Linked DNA regions of Homo sapiens: all the other regions are linked to region 1. The links are contacts of gene promoters, found by promoter capture Hi-C in blood cells and fetal thymus (Javierre and others, 2016). All regions are on one chromosome and are shown on one strand. The core of a region is centred on a gene start or on the middle of the fragment in contact, and the rest is flanking DNA. Distances in the headings are between cores, read along the strand shown. Region 1 holds the start of ABHD4 (abhydrolase domain containing 4, N-acyl phospholipase B). Region 2 overlaps TRD-AS1 (TRD antisense RNA 1). Region 3 overlaps SLC7A7 (solute carrier family 7 member 7).

Region 1 (3,143 bases), core at 361-2,860:
CAATGGTTTTAGCCAGATGAGAGTTGTCAATATCAATCGATCTAATCCTAGGGAGACTCAGAATCCTTTTAATATTCTACTGGAATTCCTTGTAGGCTTGAAGCACGGGGACCAAGACCACAGGATTTTGTCAGCCTTAAGAGACAAATTTTCTCTCTAAATCACAGACTGTGACAAGTCAGATCATAACACCTGGATCCCACATTGTCCTGTTACTGTACAAAGCAGAGTTCAGGAGAAACGCTACCCAAGGAACAGCATCATAGACTGCTCAGCAGAGAGTCCTTGGTGGGAGAATTACTTTGCTTTCCTTCTTCACCAAAAATGTTACAAGTAAACACTGGAAATGGTGCCTGGCACACTGTATGTGCTCAAAACTATGCGGGAGGTAAGGGCTGGAGTGGGAAATTGAGGCAAGGAGCAGAAAAGACATTCAGCCATGAACTTAACCTGGCTAGGACGGTCTCTGTCAACTTGATGGGGGTGAAGCACAAGGGGTTCTGTGCTGGGAGAGAATCCTGTTCTAGACCTCTGTGATCTTGGGCAAGTCTCCTAATTTCTATGGACACCAGCTTCTTCATTTTTAAAAAGGAGCTGAACTACCTGCATGTCCTCCAGCTCTAATATTCTGCCTCCCTAAGTCCTTTAAAGCATTGCAAATTTCCTCTTGGAAAAGTCATCTTAGAAAGTAAAACATTCCCCTGGACATTTCTTTCAAGCCCAGCAAGCTATTAATTATGGTCATAAAGTTAATTAGTTCCCCGGACTTCCAGTTCTACAGGTCTGAAAAACAGGATTACTGGGTCCAGGAAAGGCCCAGTTCTGGTGAAACCAAGGCTCGGCTGGGAGCTGAGTCATTCTTCTCGTAGCAACTTTTTCTTACTCCTATCAGATTGCGAACTGCTAGTCACACCACCTACAGGTGGTATCCCAAACCTGATGCCCTTGAAAGAGTGGTAGCAAATCCCAATAGCTCTAAATCTGAAACCATTGCATTAAAGATGTTGTTACGATTATTAAAAGCATTATCAACTAGGATCACATGCGGCTACGTGTCTCGGTGGGCGACAGCTAAAGAAACTTGCAAGCCCGTTGTTCCACACCAATTTCAGCGCGATGGAGACCTCTCCAGTCTCTCCACATCTTCTCTTTGCCGGGCGGAGGGAGGAGGCTCTCTCCATCCCCACGACTGCCGTTCTGGGGGGCAAGTCGAGACGAGCACGCCTGGCTGCTACCTCCGCACCCGCGTCCCACAAGCTTGCTTTCGGGGATCTCACACATCAACATGGAATCTCTCCAGAGGCCAGAGGAGAATGAGGGGCACTCGCGAGGACTAAGGTAGAAAGCCAGGATCCCCGGGCTGCGGGCGAGCGCGTCTCCCATGGCTCCCCAGGCTCAGCCGCTGCCTCTTCTGGGCAAATGCAAAGCAAGCAACGCACCCACCCCCCGCCCTCCCCGGAGGCCGACCTGGAAAAGGAAGAGCGGGAAGGTGTCTACAACTGTTCCTCAGCCACAGACAGTCCCAGGATCATGGCCCAGAGAGAGAGAGAGAAAGAGAGAAAGGGACAGGATTAACTCACTGCTGCTCCAGATCATCGGCCATAGTAAACAAGCCTTGCCAGGTCCTGGCGAGCCCGCCCAGCGCCTGACGCCAGCACCAGCTGACCCGGGAGGCCGCGGGGAGCAAGGGGGCGTGGCCGCGCAGGGGGCAGGGCTCGCGGCGGGCCGGCGGTCGGCGGTGGGACCCTCAAAACTCTGCAACTTGGTTTCAGCTAGTGGGGCCCTTGCTGTGTTTTCAATCACTGGCATGTGTCCCGGCAGAGATGTCTCTGACGGTCTCAGAATGGGACAGTAATCCTGGTCACACATTTGGGGGAGTCCTTGCAGGAGCTCCGACAGCCCTCCCTTCTCTCATAACTAAAAAGTGGTAGAACTACGCCTGCACGCTCGCACCCACTCTTTGGGCTTCCCATTGTAACTGTGTCCTCCTGAAATCGACCCTTGTTAATGTTCCTTCTAGTAAGAGGCTTAAATGTTTGTGGAGACAACGCCATTGGTTGAATGCTCCTACAAAGGGCCTGGATGCCAGATTTCGAAACTAAAATACAGGACACCTAGTTAAATGTAAATTCCAGATTTAAATAAAGCAAATACTTTTTTAGAATAAGTATGGGCCATGCAGTATTTGGGACATAAGTAGGCATCCTGTATTTTCTCTGGCAAACCTAAACCTATATGACATCTGCCAAAATGGGCATATCTCTGCTCTGATGTTGACTCTGACCCCAACCTATTTTCCAGGGAAAATATAGCTCAACTCCAGGTCACCCTCAGTTTGGAGGATAACAGTTGAAGGACTCACCAATAAGGCTAGGTCTCCTTTCGGTATGTAAATGCGGGGACAGGGAGATAAGGCTGGCTTGGCCCAGAGGTCCTGAGTGCACTTCAGTTTGCTCAGCAGAGGAGCTAAATCTTGAGGCTGGCTGCTGAATTTGCTTGTACCGGTAAACAGGGCCTGACCTCCCTGGAACTGTCAGATTTCAGATCATCCCCTTAGTTAAAACCAGACTAGGGGTGGGGCGCGGTGGCTCACGCCTGTAATCCCTGCACCTTGGGAGGCCAAAGTGGGTGGATCACTTGCAGTCAGTAGTTCGAGACCAGTCTGGCCAACATGGTGAAACCCCATCTCTTACTAAAAATACAAAAAATTAGCCAGGTGTGGTAGCAGGCACCTGTAATCCTAGCTACTGGGGAGGCTGCGGCAGGGAGAATTGCTTGAACCCAGGAGGCGGAGGTTGCAGTGAGCCAAAATTGTGACACTGCACTCCAGCCTGAGAGACAGAGTGAGACTCCATCTCAAAAACCAAAAACAAACAAGCAAACAAACAAAAAAAACCAGACTGGGGAGTGGTGGAGGATGGGTGAGAGAATGCTGGTGCACAGGGGTTTATCAAAGCATTTTTCTTTAGCCTTCCTGCAGGACCCAGATGATTCTGAGATTTCTTCTTTGTAGCAACACAGTGTTAAGCTGATCATTATAAAGACTTAACGTTTAGGAGAACCAGCATTTATAGAGTTTAGGGGCTTAGGAATTTGCCAGATGTGGTACAAAGTAGTTCAACTAGCAGAGGACTTGTCTCTTT
Region 2 (3,143 bases), core at 250-2,749, 210 kb after region 1:
GGGTGAGAGTAGATTCCTCCTGGGAGACCTGGATTGGGTCCACACCCCTGTGCAGAATAAAATAGGACTTCTTATTGAGAAGTAGTTATTAAAACATCCCTCAGTCTTGGCTATGCACCTACACTGCCCACAGGGACAGCTCTGCATGGTCCTTCCACAAGAGTGTGGCCACCTCCAGGCCCTGCTGTTAGTGCCAATAACATCTGAAGCCTCACTGTTTGCCTCACTCCGAGGACAAAGGACATCAACAAGACTCCAACCACCACCCCATTGCTTCTCAATTGGAGAAGGAAATTCTGCTTGCTCCTGTTGAGTTTGGCTGTTGCTGGAAAAAGTGTCCCATACAACTCTCTTTGAGGGCTGGCAGAGGACTGGGAAATTAGCCACAAGACTGTGAGCTGGAATGGGCCTTAGTCATCATCTGGTTCTAGTCCCTCAAATTACAGATGATAAGTGAGGCACAGAGAGGTTAAGCAAGTTGTCTAAAGTCACACAGACAAGTGAGGATTTCTAGCGCAGGAAGTAATTTTCTAAGAGGGGGAGAGAAATCCTGGTAGGGTGAATCTTGCTACTACATTTTCACTGGAGGATGCTTCAGAGGGTTGAATCTGTGGGAAAGCAATGGGGACCAGGAGAGCTGCAGCTGATCTCAGTTTTATACCTCAGTTTCTCTGTACGAAAAATGGCTGTATTATTTATCTTCATTTCAGGACTGTTAAGGGGCTTCATGAGTGACTCTGAGAAGTCCTGAGAGTTCTGGGCTTTCAGGTTAATAAGATAACAGTTTCTTGTTGGGCCTGAGACAAGGACTAGTTGCCTGGACTGAATAATCTGTTCTCTGTTCCTCAGCTACCCTGAAGGCCTTATGAAGCCCCTGGGTTTGGGAGTGTGGAAGAATTAAATAAAGGAATAGTCAGACTGAGTGGTGGGGTTGGAGAAAAGTGTGAGAAGTGGGGAAGTGGGCGCAATCCCTGCCTGCTCTGGACCTGGGAACACTCTCCCAAGAAAAAGTGTGTCTTCCGAGTGAGGCTGTTTCCTGCAGTCGGCAGGACTGGACTCCCTCCTTTTGTTTGGGGCAGCATGGAAACCGTGTTTCCCTATCTATGTGCACCTGAATGCACTCTAGTTATGCTGTATCTTTTCAATTTTGCTGGAGAAGCAAGTGTGGTTTGCTCTTTAAAATTCCCAGAGCTCCCTTTCCCATTTGGGATTTGTGGTGAAAGGTCAGACCGCAGAATTGTCTCGCGGTAATGGGGCTTCTGAATAAATGAGCCCCCGAGGGCTGCCAGGGGGACCAGAGAGCAGCAGACGCCTGCTGGGACTAAGCCCGGCAGCAGAAGCCACAGTGTCCCCCTGGCCACGGAAAAGTGGCCCCAGTGGGCTGCTCCTCATTTTCTGGCAATGTGCCCCATCCCCTGGCATGGTGAAGTCCCACGAGCCCAGAGGCCCACGTCCCGACATCAGTCTTCTCAACTGCTTTCTTCTGTTATTACCTTGTCAACAACAGTATCCGGAGACCTAAAGGATAACTCTGCATGATGATGCAGTGAATGACTGGTTAGGTGCCTCCTGTTTAATAACCAGAGAAATATTGCTGTGCGGCATCTCTCCATATGCTGTGGCATCTGCGTCTGGCATGTAAGGGACTAATTTTCTTCACATATCTCATTAAAGATGTAAAGCAAAATGGAGGGGCTTCCAGCCTAACTCTTGCCCAGCCCGCCTGCAACTCACGTTTCTTACCATCTGCTGCCATCTAGTGGCCACTTGTCTCTTTTCTGCATCTGTTGATTTTATAACGGGGCTGAAGTTTTGGCCCTTGTGAAACAGAGGTAAGACAGTTACATAAAAACCGTAATCCTGGATCTCCTCAGATTCCTCGTGGCAACTGAGGGTTGATTCTCACCCCGTGACATCCACCTAGGCCACCGTGATATTGCCTTCTGGGGCTCGAGAGCCTTCTCCGCTGTGGAGAGATATGCTCTGTGGACTTTCTTACAAATCTGTCCGCATTCCCAACTCTAAAACTGACTCATAAAAACCTGATACACTGGGCAGTTCTTTCCAAAAGGCAAGGTGAATCCTCTGATCTTGGGGCAGACAGAGTCCCACACTCCGTGCTGAAATCCCCCCGATTCTTGAGGAATCCCCAGAGGTTGGGACAGAAAAGGCACCCAGAGGAAGGGAATTCCATGGGTCTTTTCCAACAGCCCACCTGCGCATCTCCACACAAAGTCCTTGTGAGAGGAAGCCCACTTCCATCGCAATTCAGGACTCACTTTTCCGAGGCTGATCTTGTCTGACATTTGCTCCGTGGTCTGTGCTGGCATCAGAGTGTGTTTTCGGCCGTGATTCGTCAGCGTGGGGCTTGGGATAGCTGTGAAACACTCCCCAGGATGGAAAACACAGTGTGACATGGAGGGCTGAACTTATTGCAACTCGTGAGAACGGTGAATGAAGAGCAGACAGGGCCCGTGCCAGCTGCAGGGTTTAGGCACGGGGTGCAGGTGCCTATGCATCACCGTGGGCTCCTCACACGAGAGGATGGGGCCCGCACCTCTGGGCTACGTGCTAGACACAGAGTGATGTTGCTTTTTGTCATCAAACCAAGCAGTTGATATTCTCTTTAAACCTCAGCATGTGTTCATAAATTTCATTAATTGATTCATTCTTCCATATGTACTCAGCTCTAGGATATGCAGTGAAGTAAACACAAAAAACAAGAGTATGACAGTCTCGACCCTTGAGGATCTTATTATTAGAGATGGAAGTAAAAAAGAAGCATAGCAGTCAAGGCTGTATTAATTCTCCATATAAAAAATGTCTAACATACGAAGTAGGGATTCAGAGAAGGGTCACTAGCAGTTACAACAGCTGAAGACTGTATCATGGAAGTAAATATTATAATTCAAACTGCCAAAGGAATTGCAGTTGATGGTGAAATGCTCTCTAAGATGTGTGGCCTCCTAAGCCCCCGAAGTCTAGGCACTCTGCTCCAGCTGTTGTCTCCCTGAGTCGGAAGACAATGGGAGACAGGGGAATCTTCTAGGAACCCATTCATTGACCTGTAATGGTTTTCTTCCCCTCCTTAATATTACTGTTCATTCATTGATTGACATGTTCATCCATTTATTCATTCAAGA
Region 3 (3,143 bases), core at 282-2,781, 200 kb before region 1:
GAGTAGCTGGGATTACAGGCGTGCCCCACCACGCCCGGCTAATTTTTATATTTTTAGTAGAGACGGGGTTTCACCGTGTTGGCCAGGTTAGTCTTGAACTCCTGACCTCAGGTGATCTACCCGCCTCGGCCTCCCAAACAAAGTGTTAGGATTACGGGTGTGAGCCACCGCACCCGGCCTTCTTTATCAAATTGTGTCAGTCTTTCCATGTGGTCTTTCCGTATGGACTGTGTTGAGCTTTCTCACAGCGTGGTGACTCGTGGGCAGTCAGACTGCTTATGCAGGCAGCTGAAAGCGTCCAGAATGAGTGTTGTAGCACCCAAAGTGGAAGTTGCATTGCCTTTTATGACCTAGTCTCTGAAGTTGCATGGTGTCAATTCTGTCATACTCTATAGGTAGAGGCATTCACAGAAGACCATCCAGTTTCGAGAAGAGGGGTACAGACCCTGCCTCTTGATGGGTAGAGTGTCAAAGTCACATTGTAAGAAAGGAATATGGGATGGGAGACGTTGAGGCATATTGGAAAACTCCAATCTATTGCACCAACTATATTAAGGAGTTTGGTGGGCTGTCTTCTAAGGCAATGAGAAAACTCTTAAGGCCTTTAAAAGCAGAAGAGTGGCATTTGTGATTTAGATTTTAGAATTTGTGAGTTTAAGAAAGATTAGTTTTTCTATGTAGGATTGAAAGCTGGGAGACAGGTGGGAAGCTGCTGCTATGATCCTAGTGAGAAATGATGGTGGCTTGGACTAGAGTCATGTTTTGGGGACAGGGAGACTTAAGACTTGGACTATGAGTAGATATGAGTGGAAGTTGTTGATGACAATAACATGCCCAGGTCTTTGGCTTGCATAAATGGGTGGATGGTGACGCCAGTTACTTGTATGGGGAACACCGAAGGTGCAGTAGGTTTGGGAGAAATTGATGGAATCAGTTTTGGACATGTTGAGTTTGATGTGCCTGGTAATGTCCAGTAGGTGGTTGAATATTCATATATATCTAGAATCATGACAGTTGGGCTGATGATATACTTTTGGGAGTCATCATTGTATATATGGTTATTGAAACCATAGGAACAGGCCAGGGCGGTGGCTCACACCTGTAATCCCAACACTTTGGGAGGCTGAGGTGGGCTGATCACTTGAGGCCAGGAGTTCGAGACCAGCCTGGCCAACATGGCGAAACCCTGTCTCTACTAAAAATACAAAAACTAGCCGGGCATGGTGGTGTGCACCTGTAGTCCCAGCTACTCTGGAGGCTGAGGCAGGAGAATCGCTTGAACCCTGGAGGAAGAGGTTGCAGTGAGCCGAGACAGCTCCACTGCACTCCATCTTGGGTGACAGAGCAAGATTCTGTCTCAAAAAAAAAAAAAAAAAAAAAAAAGAAAGAAAAAAATAAAAAGAAAAAGAAACCACAGGAACAGATGAGATGACCTTGGGACAAGATGTAGAAAGGGAGGACAAAGGGGCTTAGAAGCATTCTGAGGAATACCCACATTTGAGGGATAGGTATTTTGTGAAAAGATGGAGAAGGAGCATCTAGAGAGATAGGTGGAAACCTGGAAGATGGTGAGTGGAAGGGAGTGAATTGAGAAGGAATGAATGACTACCTGTGTCCAATCTGCTAAGAGGTCAAGCTAGGTAAAGATTGAGTATAGTTGATTGGATTTATTGATATGAAGGTCACTGGTGGCTTTTCATGTGGGCTTTCTCCTAAGGCAATGAAATTTCAGGGCAGTGAGGGTGAAATCAGGTTTCAGAAATATCATTTATTCACCCAGCAAAATGTATTAAGTGTTACTGTGTGTCTAGTTCAGGACTATGCCCATGGGTACAAGGATAACTGTTATCCACTCTCTGCCCTCACACAGCTCTCGTGGGTGGGAGAGACATATGTACACTGTTCTAATGCAGTGTAGTTAATTGGGGAGGTGAGAGCACAGAGCAAGGGCAGCATACCAGAGGTGGCAGGTTTACACTCAAAAATAGCCTTTCTGGAGGAGCTATTAAGTTTAAAATAAGGAATAAAATGTCATTTGGAATTGGCAACTCAGAGGGTCAAAGGAAAACTTTTGCAGGGTGAAAGAGGAAGGAGTTGCAACATCTCAGACTGCATTGTAGAGACCCAGGAACGGGAAGGAATGTAGACATGCTCTTCAGATGAATGATTCTGAAAGCATGGAGGGTGATTGTTAGAGGAAAGGACCAAGGTTGAGGGACGATTTTATGAAAAAGAGTTAAGCCTGCCTTAGGTTGGTTGAGGTATGTTTCTGGAAAAGTTGGATGAAATATCTCTACCCTACAATGATGCCTTCTCCATGGCTGTAATGATTGGGTGCCCTGAGTCAGACTTCTTTTTCTTGAACAGTGTAGGGGATACCCTTATCCCTTTGGAAGGCACTGGTGCATGGTGGTGAACAGCGTGGAATCAGGCAGGATTCAATCAATGCTAGGTCAAATTTATTAGCCTCAGTTTCCTCTTGTTCTCCTTCTCCTTCTCCTTTTCCTCCTTCTCCTTCTTCTTCTTCTTTTTTTTTGACAGAGTTTCACTCTTGTTGCCCAGTCTGGAGTGCAGTGGCGTAATCTCAGTTTACTGCAACCTCCGCCTCCTGGGTTCAAGCGATTCTCCTGCCTCAGCCTCCCGAGTAGCTGGGATTACAGGTGCCCACCACTATGCCCGGCTAATTTTTTGTATTTTTAGTAGAGATGGGGTTTCACCATGTTGGCCAGGCTAGTCTGAAACTCCTGACCTCAGGTGATCTACCTTCCTCGGCCTCTCAAATTGCTGGGATTACAGGCATGAGCCACCGTGCCCAGCCCTCAGTTCTCTCTTCTATAAAATGGGGTCCCTACCTCATAGAAATGTGATCTATATTTGTACCATATTTTCATCTTTTTCTATTCAAATCATGACAGTTTCCAAAGAGCAAACACAGAGTCTCTGCTCCTGCCAGTTGTTTGCAGTCTTTTGGCAGGCATAGTCTACCTTTAGAGCTGTTGAACTACAGCCCTAGATAGTCTGGTATTACTAATAGACCTTGAAATCATTTACTGGTTATTGCTTAAGTAGGTTTTTTTATACGGGTGGTTGACTTCATTCATTGCTGATTTCATTGTCAGGGTAATAACGTTTTGCCCTCTCTG

Evidence for each region. Contacts are between HindIII fragments. The CHiCAGO score rates a contact against its expected background, and 5 or more counts as called.
Region 2: a fragment that was not itself captured here is called in contact with the fragment with the promoter of ABHD4 in region 1 in 3 of 17 cell types (total B cells, naive B cells and endothelial precursors); the score reaches 6.5 in total B cells.
Region 3: a contact is called between a fragment that was not itself captured here and the fragment with the promoter of ABHD4 in region 1, in 2 of 17 cell types (naive B cells and total B cells). The highest score is 5.9, in naive B cells.

The regions. Positions count from the first base shown.
Region 1 is chr14:22,596,767-22,599,909 of GRCh38, reverse strand. It overlaps ABHD4 (abhydrolase domain containing 4, N-acyl phospholipase B), which reads right to left and starts at 1,610. Exons shown (of 7, transcript NM_022060.3): 1 at 1,581-1,610. The coding sequence starts at 1,603. RefSeq lists an enhancer at 1,376-1,615 and a silencer at 1,726-1,925. The HindIII fragment of the contact is 5,320 bases long and covers 1,260-3,143 here.
Region 2 is chr14:22,386,209-22,389,351 of GRCh38, reverse strand. The region is part of intron 2 of TRD-AS1 (TRD antisense RNA 1); the gene reads left to right. It also overlaps TRA. Among named protein-coding and RNA genes, the nearest start is that of TRD-AS1, 95 kb to the left of the region's middle. RefSeq lists enhancers at 842-1,342, 1,451-1,680. The HindIII fragment of the contact is 4,572 bases long and covers 1-3,143 here.
Region 3 is chr14:22,797,689-22,800,831 of GRCh38, reverse strand. The region is part of intron 2 of SLC7A7 (solute carrier family 7 member 7); the gene reads left to right. Among named protein-coding and RNA genes, the nearest start is that of SLC7A7, 16 kb to the left of the region's middle. The HindIII fragment of the contact is 3,739 bases long and covers 1-3,143 here.